2 separate regions of the Homo sapiens genome follow, and region 2 is linked to region 1. The links are contacts of gene promoters, found by promoter capture Hi-C in human tissues and cell types (Jung and others, 2019). All regions are on one chromosome and are shown on one strand. The core of a region is centred on a gene start or on the middle of the fragment in contact, and the rest is flanking DNA. Distances in the headings are between cores, read along the strand shown. Region 1 overlaps TRIM4 (tripartite motif containing 4). Region 2 holds the start of CYP3A7 (cytochrome P450 family 3 subfamily A member 7).

Evidence for each region. The method cuts DNA at HindIII sites, captures the fragments that hold promoters and counts their contacts. A contact is called where the count stands out against the background at its distance.
Region 2: the fragment with the promoter of CYP3A7 here is called in contact with a fragment that was not itself captured in region 1 in 3 of the 25 tissues and cell types used here (adrenal gland, mesendoderm cells and thymus).

The regions. Positions count from the first base shown.
Region 1 is chr7:99,900,435-99,903,226 of GRCh38, reverse strand. TRIM4 (tripartite motif containing 4) reads left to right here. Exons shown (of 6, transcript NM_033091.3): 5 at 1-9. Among named protein-coding and RNA genes, the nearest start is that of TRIM4, 18 kb to the left of the region's middle. The HindIII fragment of the contact is 4,226 bases long and covers 1-2,792 here.
Region 2 is chr7:99,733,733-99,736,524 of GRCh38, reverse strand. It overlaps CYP3A7 (cytochrome P450 family 3 subfamily A member 7), which reads left to right and starts at 1,329. Exons shown (of 13, transcript NM_000765.5): 1 at 1,329-1,502. The coding sequence starts at 1,432. It overlaps CYP3A7-CYP3A51P (CYP3A7-CYP3A51P readthrough), which reads left to right and starts at 1,329. Exons shown (of 15, transcript NM_001256497.3): 1 at 1,329-1,502. The coding sequence starts at 1,432. It also overlaps a transcript of ZSCAN25 not described here. RefSeq lists enhancers at 1-169, 1,154-1,184 and promoters at 1,190-1,432, 1-1,432. The HindIII fragment of the contact is 8,535 bases long and covers 1-2,792 here.

The DNA.
Region 1 (2,792 bases), core at 83-2,582:
GATTCCAAGGTGAGCAGAATTTCTAGGACTTGGGGCTCCTTAGAAATCTTTCAAATAGGAGAATAAAGAGAGAAGTCTGGAGAGGAAAGAGGAAACAGCATGCAGCTAATAGAGTGTCAGGAAAGGTGGTTAATAAATGGGTATACACTTCATTCAAGAAACATTTATTTAACGCACTGTTACAAGGTGCTAGTGATACAAAAAGAAGAGACCTGTTCACTTCTTCATGAGTTCGTAAGCACATTGGAGAGACAGACACACAGCACTCACAGTGATATAGTAGGAGCCAGTGTTTGCTGGTGGTAGGAATAAAATGTTACAGAAATTCAGAGGAAGGGCTCTGTTGGGGGCGAGATGGGAAAGTTTTCACAGCAGAGGCGACAGTTTTGAGATTTGAGGGATTAGTAGGAGTTTGGCAGGTGGAAAACAGGGATGACTGTTTCAAGCAGAAGCAGCAGCATGAGCTAAGGTGTGGAGAACATGGAGGGGTGGGTATCCAAAGAGGCTAAAGAACAAGGTGTATTTTGAGGAAAGGTAGAGGTTGAGGTTGAGAAGAAGAGTGTAGGACAGACTGAAAATAAACTCATTGGATCTCCAGGGAGGCACCAAGGCAGGTACATGCTCTAGAAGCTGTGCTGGTGATTCTTATGTGCACATGTTTGATTAAGAACCATGTTGTAGGCCGGGCACGAAGGCTCATGTCTGTAATCCCAGCACTTTGGGAGGTCGAGGCAGGCGGATCATTTGAGGTCAGGAGTTCGAGACCAGCCTGGCCAACATGGTGAAACCCTGTCTCTACTAAAATACAAAAATTAGCTGAGCATAGTGGTGTGCACCTGTAATCCCAGCTACTCGGGAGGCTGAGGCAGGAGAATCGCTTGAACCTGGGAGGTGGAGGTTGCAGTGAGCTGAGATTGTATCCACTGCACTCCAGACTGGGCGATAGAGTGAGACTCTGTCTCAAAAAACAAACAAACTAAAAAGAACCATGTTGTGGGTGTTCACTTCTAGCCAAAATGGAGTAAATAAACGAGTTGTTTTCTTGTCTGCAGCAACTAAAATAAAAACACAAAAACAAAACAGGCACAATATGTGAAACAACCGTTTTCAAAGCACCAGACGTCAGGCAGTGAAGGACGGTGATTCCTGAGAAATGTGAAACAAATGAGGTCAGCCTATGATTGCCCTACCCTCTGCCTGAGGGAGTTTCCAGACCATGTAAGGCTGAGGTAACTGAGGTAGAGCCAGGGAGACTTGCTGAGTTGAGGAATAGACCTGGGAGTTCACGGAGAACAAAGTAGTGAGAGTTCGCAAAGTACTGGGCAGTATCCTGGAGCGGAGAGAGCCGGACACAGAGAGAACCCTCGCCATCTATGGAGGAGCTTCCTAGTTGTTTGGCAGAGTTCTGATCAGCACATGCCTGTGAAAATCTACTCAAGGCTGGAGATAGAAGCTTCTAAAACGATTAGAGGGAACGGTTCCTGGTGCTCACACAGGGCCAGGAACAGTGCCAGTTCCTATCAGCCACACCAGAAAACTCGTAGTTCACGGGCACTGAGTAGCGTACTCAGGAAAATCTTGCCTCATTAGCAGAAAATATTTAGCCCTTGACTGGGTGCTGCTCCACACCCACCTTACAAATCATGAAAGCAAGACCCAAAGGGGTCAAACTCTTTCCAACTAACTTAACTGCATCCCAGGATAAAGCCCTAGAAAATTGGTAGAAATAAACAAAAAAAGAGCACCTAACAATATAAATTCACAATGTCTGGCATCCAGTCAAATATGCATGCAAAAAGATAGGAAAGCAGTGACCCATAATGGAGGAAAATAATCAACTGAAACTGACCTAGAATTGACACAGATGTTAGAATAAGCATGGAAGGACTTTAAAACATTTATTATGAGTGTATTCTGTAAAGAGGTACATAGAGACCAGATCAAAGTTTTAAAGATGAAAAATGTGATTAAGGCGAAGAATGCACTGGATGGGATTAATAGTTGATTAAATATTACAAAAGAAAAAATTGGTGAACTTGAAGACAGAGCAATGGAAACTACAAAAAAATGAAACATACACAGAATAAAACAATTTACAAAAACACAAAGAGCATCAGTGACCTGTGGGACAACTTTATGCAGCCTTATTATCTATGGTGATTGGCGTCCCTGAAAGAGAGGAGTGGGGAGGGAGATGGAATAGGAAAAATACTTGAAGACATAATGGCCAAAGATTTTCTGAATATAATAAAAACTAAGTCCACAGATCCAAGATGCTCAACAAACCCTGAGTATGAGAAATATGAAGAAAAATATGCCAAGGCTCATCATAACTTGCTGGAAACCAGTGTTAAAAAGAAAATCTTAAATGCAACCAGGGGAGAGGATAGTTACTTGCAGTGGAACAAAGACGAAGTTGACATTACACTTCTCATTGGAAACAATGCCAGTAAGCAAACTCTTTAAAGTCCTGAAAGAAAAAAACTGTTAACCTAGAGTTCTAGAACTGGCAAAAAATATCCTTCAAAAACAAAGGTGAAATAAATAAGTTTGGAGGTAAACTAAAGCTTAAAAGAAAGAGTTTACAGCAGACTGACACTTCAAGAAAGGAAGTCTTAAAGGAAGTCCTTCAGACAGAAGGAAAATGCCAGATGGAAATCTCTCTACACAAAGGAATAAAAGAGCACCAGAAATGGTAATGACACGAATAAATATATATTATTGTCATTATTTATTCCTTTAAAAAGGAATTGCGATGGTAAGTTTATACATCAACTTGACTGGGCCACAGA
Region 2 (2,792 bases), core at 80-2,579, 170 kb after region 1:
CACACCCTCATCACTGAGATCTCTCCCATCAGGAATGGGTCACAGGGCTCACAGGTGGCAGCAACTGTTATTACAGGCCTCATCTCTACCAGCTCCTGGCACCTGCTCTCCTCCCATTAGAAAATCCTCCACTTGTCAAAAAGGAAGCCATTTGCTTTGAATTCCAATTCCACCCTCAAGAGGCTGGGACCACCTCATTGGAGTCCTTGATGCTGTGTGACCTGCAGTGACCACTGCCCCATTGTTGCTGGCTGAGGTGGTTTGGGTCAACCTGGCCATCTGGGCAGCTGTTCTCTTCTCTTCTTTCTCCCCTACTGTTTCCAGACATGCAGTATTTCCAGAGAGAAGGGGCCACTCTTTGGCAAAGAACCTGTCTAACTTTCTATCTACGGCAGGACTTTTGAAAGCTACAGAGGAAGAAGCACAAATTGATGCTATTCCACTAAGCCATCAGCTCCATCTCATCCATGCCATGTCTCTTTTTTAGGGGTCCTCTTGCCAACAGAATCACAGAGGACAAATCTGAAAGTGCAGAGACAGCAGCTGAGGCACAGCCAAGAGCTCTGGCTGTATTAATGACCTAAGAAGATGGAGTGGTCACCAGAAAGTCAGAGGAAGTGACACACAGGGGCCCAGCAATCTCAGCCAAGTCAACTCCACCAGCCTTTCTGGTCCCCACTGTGTGTACAGCACCCTGATAGGGACCAGAGCCATGAGAGTGAGTAAGACCAGACTATGCCCTTGAGGAGCTCACCTCTGCTAAGGGAAACAGGCCTGGAAACACACAATGGTGGTAAAGAGGAAAGAAGACAATAGAACTGCATGAAGGGGATGGAAAGTGCCCAGGGGAGGAAATGGTTACTTCTGTGTGAGGGGGTTGGTGAGGAAAGACTCTAAGAGAAGGCTCTGTCTGGCTGGGTATGAAAGGATGTGTAGGAGTCTTCTAGGGGGCACAGGCACACTCCAGGCATAGGTAAAGATCTGTAGGCATGGCTTGTTGGGATGAGTTTCAAGTATTCTGGAATGAGGACAGCCATAGAGACAAGAGGAGAGTTAATAGATTTTATGCCAATGGCTCCACTTGAGTTTGTGATAAGAACCCAGAACCCTTGGACTCCCCAGTAACATTGATTGAGTTGTGTATGATTCTACATAGAATATTAACTCAATGGAGGTCAGTGAGTGGTGTGTGTGTGATTATTTGCCAACTGCCGAGGTGGAGAAGCCTCTTCCGACTGCAGGCAGAGCACGGGGGCCCTGCTACTGGCTGCAGCTCCAGCCCTGCCTCCTTCTCCAGCATATAAACAATCCAACAGCCTCACTGAATCACTGCTGTGCAGGGCAGGAAAGCTCCACACACACAGCCCAGCAAACAGCAGCACGCTGCTGAAAAAAAGACTCAGAGGAGAGAGATAAGGAAGGAAAGTAGTGATGGATCTCATCCCAAACTTGGCCGTGGAAACCTGGCTTCTCCTGGCTGTCAGCCTGATACTCCTCTATCTGTGAGTAACTGTTCAGGCTCCTCTTCTCTGTTTCCTTGGACTTGGGGTGCTAATCAGGCCTCTCTTTCCCTTATCTGTTTTGAATAGCAAAAAGGATGTTCAGGCTGGCCGTGGTGGCTCACACCTGTCATCCCAGAACTTTGGGATGCTGAGCAGGTGGACTGCCTGAGGTCAGGAGTTCAAGACCAGCCTGGCTAATATGGTGAAACCCCATCTCTACTAAAATTACAAAAATTAGCTGGGCATGGTAGTGCATAACTGTAGTCCCAGCTACTTGGGTGGCTGAGGCAGGAGAATTGCTTGAACCTGGGAGGCGGAGGTTGCAGTGAACTGAGATCATGCCACTGCACTCCAGCCTGGGTAACAGAGTGAGATTCCATCTCAAAAAAAAAAAAAGAGAAAAAAAAGAAAAAAAAAGATTTTCAAGGAGAAGTAGCTTAAGTGTTGGATGCTACAAACATATAGAGGTTATGATGGATGTTTTGCAGATCTATAAAGGAATAAATAAGCATCTCCCCCATTCATCTTTAGTGGAAAGAAGGGTTTAGGGACAGCATTGATTGAGGATAATCTAATAGACAATGGTTTGTACCCAGCTTACCAAACCAGAATTTGGATTTTACATTTTTCCCTTTAAGTTGCAGGAGAAGAGGGTGAATCTTCTCACCAGTGAGATCCTGGCATCCTAGAGCAGGTGGAGAGAAGAGTCACTCCCTACTGTGTGTACTGGAGGCTTCCCGCCTGTCACATTTTACTTCTAACTCAATTTCACAGTTATTAAGAGTAAGGAATCATGGTCACATGGAAACAGAAAATACAAACCTCGTTTTAATTCTTTCACAGAAAAGTTAGCAATTCAGTGAGTTGTGGTAACATAGTTTCCATCTACTGGCAATTTAACATGAATTGGTGTGGCTTAAATTCATCCTTTTTAAAGCCAGATTTTTTTGGAGATAGACTATTTCCAGCATGTTCCTTCTGAGTGATAAAAGAGGGCTATTAGTTCAGTATTTGTGACAATAAATGTGTATAAGATAACCTCACCTTTCCAGAATAATGTCAGGAATATGAGTCTAATGTACAAATATATATCTCTAGGACAAGACTGCATATGTCTTTTTAAAAATACTTTCCCAAGAGTTTATTTTAATACCCCCATTTCAAATACACCTGCTTAGCAGGTTATCCTAAACTCTCAGGGCTAGAAAGTAAGCAAGACTGTGAGCCAGTGATGATAGCAAAAGCATCCAGGTAGGATCAAGATGAAGTGAGAAAATATTCCTTACCCCT